Regions from separate parts of the Homo sapiens genome. Here region 1 is linked to region 2. The links are contacts of gene promoters, found by promoter capture Hi-C in human tissues and cell types (Jung and others, 2019). All regions are on one chromosome and are shown on one strand. The core of a region is centred on a gene start or on the middle of the fragment in contact, and the rest is flanking DNA. Distances in the headings are between cores, read along the strand shown.

Region 1 (3,976 bases), core at 298-2,797, 540 kb after region 2:
GAGTAGAGGAAAGATGTGGTTTACAGGGTGTTTTCACTACACAATACACTCTCAAAGACATAAAAGTAAGAGCTGGCTAGGCGTGGTGGTTCACGCCTGTAATCCCAGCACTATGGGAGGCCGAGGCCGGTGGATCACCTGAGGTCAGGAGTTCAAGACCAGCCTGGCCAACATGGTGAAACTCTGTCTCTACTGAAAAAAAATAGCCAGGTGTTGTGATGTGCGCCTATAATCCCAGCTACTCGGGAGGCTGAGGCAGGAGAATCGCTTGAACCCAGGAGGCCGAGGTTGCAGTGAGCCAAAATCGCGCCACTGCACTCCAGCCTGGGCAGCAGAGCAAGACTCCGCCTGAAAAAAAAAAAATATAAGAGCTAAAACTATAAAAATCTTAGAAGCAAGGATGGAGGGAAAGCTTCATGATTTTGGATTTGGTGATGATTTTGTGGCTATGACACCACAGGCACAGGCAACAAAAGAAAAATAGACAAACTGGGGCCGGGTGTGGTGGCTCACGCACTTTGGGAGGCTGAGGCGGGTGAATCACCTGGGCTCAGGAGTTCGAGACCACCCATGGCAACATGGTGAAACCCCATCTCTACTAAAAATACAGAAAAATTAGCTGGGAATGGTGGCGTGCTCCTGTAGTCCCAGCTACTTAGGAGGCCAAGGCGAGAATCGCTTGAGCTCTGGAGGAGGAGGTTGCAGTGAGCCAAGATTGCATCACTGCACTCCAGCTTGGGCTACAGAGTGAGACTCTGTCTCAAAAAAAAAGACAAATTAGACCTCATTGAAATTAACTTTTGTGCATTGAAGGGTTGGAAAGCTTTGATACATTTCCTCACCAATCATAAAGGTCATGGCCAACATGCCTATGACAAAAGACAGAATTACAAGAGAAAATAATAACAAACTTATTTACAACATTTTACACAATACAGGAGCTTCTGGAAATGAAGACCTAAAGACCAAGGGAAAACTATTTGTATGCTTAGGTTGAATGAAGAATGGACAGCCATGTAGAAATATGATTGGACAAAAAGGGTGTGATCTAATAGTAATACACTGAGGGGAAGAAACCCAGTAAGGTTCAAATTCTTCTTGGTCTCTCAGTGTAGCATTTCTTTGCCCTAGGTATCGGCAGGACTCTTCTGGAATGAGGGTCTTCAAGGGAGAAGAGGAGAGTAACCTCGCTTTTTTTTTCTTTCTTTTTTTTTTTTTTTTGAGACAGTCTTGTTCTGTCATCTAGGCTGGAGTGCAGTGGCATAATCTCAGCTCACTGCAACCTCTGCCTCCTGGGTTCAAGCAATTCTCCTGCCTCAACCTCCCCTGCCTCAGCCTCCTGAGTAGCTGGGACTACAGGCGTGTGCCACCACGCCCAACTTTTTTTTTTTTTTTTTTTTTTTGTATTTTTAGTAGAGACGGGGTTTCACCATGTTGGCCAGGGTGGTGTCGAACTCCTGACTTCAGGTGATCCGCCCATCTCGGCCTCCCAAAGTGCTGGGATTACAGGAATGAGCCACCGTGCCCAGCCTAGACAGAGTAACTTTTCTAGGTTTTGTGGCTAGCTCTGGGGGAGTGGGATTCTAGTTACTACAACCTGCCTTGGGAAGAAGGGTTCTGATTCTCACTTCAGTGGAGAAAGAGGGATGGGAGATAGGAGGGCAGGAGAAGGTCAGAGAGAGACTTTGCTTCTGGAACCTTTCAGTCTCCTTTAGTTCAAAGCACTCAGCATGCTAAAGCAGCATACTTTGGGGTATCATTTTCTGAGCCTGAACAGCATCAAAGAAAAACAAAGGGTTCTGGTATATTTATGGGAGGCCATTGATTTGGTTTTTTTGTTTGTTTGTTTTATGAGACACGGTCTCACTCTGTTGCCCAGGCTGGCGTGTAGCGATGCCATCATGACTTACTGCAGTCTTGACCTCCTGGGCTCAAGCGATCTTACCACTTCATCCTCCCCGGTAATTGGGACTACTATTTTTTTGTAGAGAAGAGGTTTCATCATACTGCCCAGGCTATTGTTGAACTCCTGAGCTCAAGGGATCCTCCCACCTCGGCCCCTGAAAGTGCTAGAATTACAGGTGTGAGCCACAGTGCCTGGCCAAATGGAGGCCATTGATTTGTACTGAGCTCCTCCTACACTAGGCCCCTACAGGCTGACCCAAAATGGAGTCACTCATGCTAAGGTTCCATGTCACCAAACTGAAACCTAAGCTGTTTGCTTATAAGATCTGACCTTAGGGCTGGGCGTGGTGGCTCACGCCTGTAATCCCAGCACTTTGGGAGGCCGAGGCGGGTGGATCACTTGAGGTCAGGAGTTCGAGACCAGCCTGACCAACATGGTGAAACCCCATCTCTACTAAAAATACAAAAATTAGCTGGGTGTGGTAGTGCATGTCTGTAATCCCAGCTACTTGGGAGGCTGAGGCAGGAGAATTGCATGAACCCAGGAGGCAAACGTTGCCGTGAGCTGAGATCGTGCCACTGGACTCCAGCCTGCGCAACAGAGCAAAACTCTTGTCTAAAAAAAAAAAAAAAAATCTGACCTTCTGAGAAATCAGGAGAGAGGCAACAGTCAAATCCCCAATAGGTCAGTTTTACAAAAAAATAGATTCACAGCAACCAATCAAAAGGGGCCCATTCAACCTAAGCTGCTTGATAAGGAAGTCCCCTCTGCTTTAAGCCATGCAAGGAAAGTAACCCGAAGGAACCTAATGTTAACCAATCCACTTTTTTTTTTTTTTTGAGATGGAGTCTCGCTCTGTAGCCCAGGCTGGAGTGCAGTGGCGCAATCTCGGCTCACTGCAACCTCCGCCTTCCGGGTTCACGCCATTCTCCTGCCTCAGCCTCCCAAGTAGCTGGGACTACAGGCGCCCGCCACCAAGCCCGGCTCATTTTTTTTGTATTTTTAGTAGAGACGGGGTTTCACCATGTTAGCCAGGATGGTCTCGATCTCCTGACCTCGTGATCTGCCCTCCTTGGCCTCCCAAAGTGCTGGGATTACAGGCATGAGCCACCGCGCCCAGCCAACCAATCCACTTTTTCCACTATGCTGTTTCCTTGTTCCTGGTCAAGCTGCCTGCCTTAGAAAAACCTACTGCTCTGCCATGCCTGGTAGAGCTCCTGTCTATTTTGTAGGCTGGATGTTGCTCAGTTCATGAATCACCAATAAAAGCTAATTAGATCTTTATTTTTTTTACAGACAGTGTCTTGCTCTGTCACCCAGGCTACAGTGCAGTAGTGCAATCCTAGCTCACTGTAACCTTAAACTCCTAGGCTCTGGTGATCCCCCCACCCCGGCCTCCCAAAGTAAGGAGATTACAAGCATGAGATACCACATCTAGCCAAATCTTTAAAACTCAATGTGTTGAAATTGTGTTTTTGACACAACACACAGAATAGGAGAAAATATTTGTGAATCATATATCTGATAAGAGATTAATATCCAGAATGCATGCAGAACTCCTAAAACTCAACAACAGAAAACCCATTTTCAAAATAAGCAAGGGTTGCACAGCAATCTGAACATACTTAATATCTGTGTGAGATAGAGGAACAAACCTAAGTGATTTTTCCTACTCTTACCCAGTCACTCAACACTGCCAACAGCAGATATGCGGGGGTTATTTCCCCACACACCAAACATCGATTCTGCGGATTCCCCAGTAGACATCAGCTGGGTGTCCTCCAGTTCAGTTCTGACACCATCTACCTGGAGATAGTGTCAGATCCCACAGGTTGAGGGCTCTAGTCCCACAAGGCTGCCCCCCACTTCAGATGCTGCAAGCACGGGTCGTGGTCTGTGCTTCTGACCAATTGGCTATAAACTGGGGCTCCCAGGATTTATTTAATTGGCTAGTGTGGCTCACAAGACTCAGGGAACCACTTACTGATGTATACTGGTTTCTTATAAAGGATATTACAAAGAATACAGATGAACACTGTAATCCCAGCACTTTGGGAGGCTGAGCGAGGC
Region 2 (4,078 bases), core at 719-3,218:
TATTTACTAACCCTCCCTTTTAAATACGTTTACTGCTTTTACTACTAGATTTTTTTTAATGGGAGGCGTATTTTTACAGTTTCCTATTTGCAAGGTGGGAAAACGGAAACAAAGATTCTGTTCTCTTCTTGTAAGGACCCTAATCCCATCACAAGGGCCCGCTCTCATGATCTCATCTAACCTCCCAAACGTCCCATCTCCAAATACTATCACACTGGGGGTCAGGGTGTCCACATATGAATTTGAGAGGGACACAATTCAGTCTATGACATGGACTCTGTTCCTAGTGGAGAGTGGTGGAACGAAGGAGGCAGTTACTGCAAGCATGAATACATCCGCACATGGTCTGGCTCATCACAGAGGGCAAAGGTAAGATCCTGTGAACTTTGTGCTCCACCGCCACAGTGTTACAAAAACACTCTCTTCTCCAGAAAAATGGAAGGAGGAGGCAATGTTGGGCTAGCATTCCTGCCTGGTATCACTGGCTGAGACTGAGCAGTGGCTTCCCTCTTTGCACAGGAAAAGGGCTCTCCAGGTCTCCCAGGTCCCCACCACTCCCTGTCATCTTAGACTCTTTTAACTTCTCTTCTTTGATTTACCCACCACCTGGCCAGAGCAGACACTTAGGTTTGTTACCTCTGGTTGGTGACTATGGCTGACAACCTTTTTTGTGGTTCTAGACACTTCAGAATCTAGTGAGAGTTGTCGACCCTCTGTCTAGCAAGAGCACATCACAACACATTGTGCGTTCAATTTAGAGGTTTGTGGCCTCTCCTAAGCCCAGGCTACAGACTCTCAGGGTGAGAATTTCTGAGTCAGAGATAATGTTGTCCTCTTCCATCTTCAAACCATCTTTTCCCATGGTTGGCTCCTTCTCAACACTGGAGTTTCAACTCAAACAGCAACTCCTAGATGTCTTCCCTGACCCACAGTTAGGTAGCTGTCCATCCTCCCTCTCCTGCTCCTTTTTATCTCAGCTTTTATTTTCCCTAGGAGACTTCTCGCTCTCTGAAATGGTCTGGTTCAGGCTGTATTGTTTGACTTAGCCCTCACCCCCTGAATGTAATATTAGCGGGCACTGTAGCCCAGCGGAACCCACCAGGCACTTGGTAAGATCTTGCTGAAATGTATGAATGATTGGAAGTGTGTCCGGAGTTGGTTTCTTCCAGTGGGTTCCTAGTCTCGCTGACTTCAAGAATGGAGCCGCGGACCTTCGCAGTGAGTGTTAAAGCTCTTAAAGATGGCACAGTCCCAAAGAGTGAGCAGCAGCAAGATTTATTGTGAAGAGCAAAAAGCTTCTGCAATGCGAAAGGGCACCTGAGAGGGTTGCTGCTGCTGGCGGGGGTGGCCAGCTTTTATTCCCTTATTTGCCCCCTCCCCCACGTCCCCCCGCCCTCCCCCGCCCCCCGCCGTCCCCCCGCCCTCCCCCCCGCCCCCGTCTTCCCGCCCCCCCCGCCCCCGTCTTCCCCCCGCCCACCCCGCCCCCCCCGCCCCCCTTCGCCCCCCCATGTTCCGTTTTTGTCCTATCAGAGCGCCCTTTTTTCAATCCTCCCTGTGATTGGCTTCTTTTAGGATCCTGCTGATTGGTGCATGTTACAGAGCACTGATTGGTGCGTTTTACAGAGCGCTGATTGGTGCATTTTACAATCCTCTTGATAGCTATAGAAAAGTTCTCCAAGTCTCCACTCACCCAGAAAGTCCAAATGGCTTCACTTCTCAGAAGGATCCCTCCATCTCGGGCTCCTAGAGGCTTCAGGCAGGAGGAGCCACGTGAGAGAGAAACCCTGCCTACGGTGACCTCCAGTTCCTAGACCACCCACTCGGAGCACGGCGCTCGGCTGTGCCCGTGAGCCTCAGGAGGGCGGAAGCTTCCGGGCCGGAACGGGTGTGCACAGCGCGCCGGTTACGGGGGGGCAACTTAACGGGCCGGACCGCGGCGACTACCGAGGGAGGTGAGGGGCGGGCCGGGCGGGTGTCCGAGGCGGCGGCGGCGGCATGGCAGGGCGGCGGGTGAACGTGAACGTGGGCGTGCTGGGCCACATCGACAGCGGCAAGACGGCGCTGGCGCGGGCGCTAAGCACCACAGCCTCCACCGCCGCCTTTGACAAGCAGCCGCAGAGCCGCGAGCGCGGCATCACGCTCGATCTGGGCTTCTCGTGCTTCTCGGTGCCGCTGCCCGCGCGCCTGCGGTCGTCTTTGCCCGAGTTCCAGGCAGCGCCCGAGGCCGAGCCCGAGCCCGGCGAGCCACTGCTTCAGGTCACGCTGGTCGACTGCCCCGGGCACGCCTCCCTCATCCGGACCATCATCGGCGGTGAGCGCGGGCCGGGGCGGGAGCCGGGCTCAGGGACGCGGGCGGAGCGACCGGGCCCCGTGTCCGAATTCGCTCGAGCCTTTGCCGGGACGGGAAATCGCCCCACCTCATTGGTGGGGCTCCTGACGCCCCAAGAGGCGGACGTGACTTGCCTAGGGCTCCGCAGCAAGTGAGCGGAGGCTTTGAGATTCAGCTTTTCCCATCCAGCAGAACCGAGCTGCAAGGCGCCTTCCTTAAAAAAAAAAAAAAAAAAAAATCAAAAAATCCCTACCAAATGTGTTTATAATACATGGTCAAGTAAAGAAAACTCAAAATAAGAAAACTCACAAGCTACAAAAAGGGTATACATACAAAGGCTGTCTTCATTCACCTGTCATTTGGTCTGATTCCCGTTCCTAGAGCCAACCGCTGCTACCAGTTTTTGTATATCATTTCAGAAAGGCTCCACGTCAATACAAGCATATCTGTGTGTATGTATAAATCCCTCTTTCCCTCATCCTTTTAGACACGATTTCACTCAACATTGTGTCTGGAGAGTGCCCCATATCTGTACACAAAGCTACATCATTCTTTTTAAAGCTCACATAGAATTCAACTGCACCCTTGTACCAACATTTTCTTTTTCTTTTTTTTTTTTTCTTTTTGAGACAGAGTCTTGTTCTGTCGCCCAGCCTGGAGTGCAGTGGCACGATCTCGGCTCACTGCAACTTCCGCCTCCTGGGTTCAAGCGATTGTCCTGCCTCAGTCTCCTGAGTAGCTGGGATTACAGGCGCGCGCCACCACGCCCGGCTAATTTTTTTGTATTTTCAGTAGAGACGGGTTTCACCATGTTGGTCAGGCTGGTCTCAAACTCCTGACTTCATGACCCGCCCGCCCTGGCCTCCCAAAGTCCTGGGATTACAGGCGTGAGCCACCACGTCCGGCCTGTACCAACATTTTCTGAACAAATCTTTTAATGATGGACGTTTATGCTGTTTCCAGTATTTACAAACCATTTTGCAGTGAATATTCTAGAACAGAACTCTTTGGTATGTTCGCATATATGTAGGATAATAGATAATAACTGGCTGGGGCAAGGGGCATGTGTGTTTTCGGTCGTGGTGGGTACTGCCAAAATGCCCCACAAAGAGGTACCATTAATTTTTAATTATACATGTAATACATGAATACATGCTACTTGTGAAGAAATAGAACATCACAAATAAGACAAACATTCCCTTACCCACTCCTCTGTCCTAAATTCTGTACCCCTCCTATCTCTGCAAATGAAAAGACCCGTTTTTTGTTTTTTTGTTTTTTTGTTTTTTTCTGAGATGGAGTCTCGCTCTGTTACCAGGCTGGAGTGCAGTGGTGCAATCTTGGCTCACTGCAACCTCTTTCTCCCCGGTTCAAGCGATTCTCCTGCCTCAGCCTCCCAAGTAGCTGGGACTACAGGTGCACATCACCACACCTGGCTAATTTTTATATTTTTAGTAGACATGGGGTTTCACCATATTGGCCAGGATGGTCTTGATCTCGACCTCGTGATCCCCATGCCTCGGCCTCCCAAAGTGCTGGGATTACAGGTGTGAGCCACTGTGCCTGGCTGAAAAGACCATTATTATACCTTTGTGGATTACTTTTCCAGACCCATTTAACTCCACTTAAATATATGGATAGAGTTTTAAAACATGTTTTGTTTTTAGAAAAAATGATACAATAATATAAACACATGGTATAAAAGGGTATATAGCTAAAGAAGTATACTTCTCACTGCTGACCCCAGTA

The links. The method cuts DNA at HindIII sites, captures the fragments that hold promoters and counts their contacts. A contact is called where the count stands out against the background at its distance.
Region 1: a fragment that was not itself captured here is called in contact with the fragment with the promoter of EEFSEC in region 2 in 1 of the 25 tissues and cell types used here (dorsolateral prefrontal cortex).

Annotation. Positions count from the first base shown.
Region 1 is chr3:128,689,285-128,693,260 of GRCh38, forward strand. No RefSeq gene overlaps it. Among named protein-coding and RNA genes, the nearest start is that of RAB7A, 35 kb to the right of the region's middle. The HindIII fragment of the contact is 7,361 bases long and covers 1-3,976 here.
Region 2 is chr3:128,151,513-128,155,590 of GRCh38, forward strand. It overlaps EEFSEC (eukaryotic elongation factor, selenocysteine-tRNA specific), which reads left to right and starts at 1,969. Exons shown (of 7, transcript NM_021937.5): 1 at 1,969-2,311. The coding sequence starts at 1,996. It also overlaps a transcript of RUVBL1 not described here. RefSeq lists an enhancer at 1,600-1,829 and a silencer at 1,960-2,479. The HindIII fragment of the contact is 4,118 bases long and covers 1,582-4,078 here.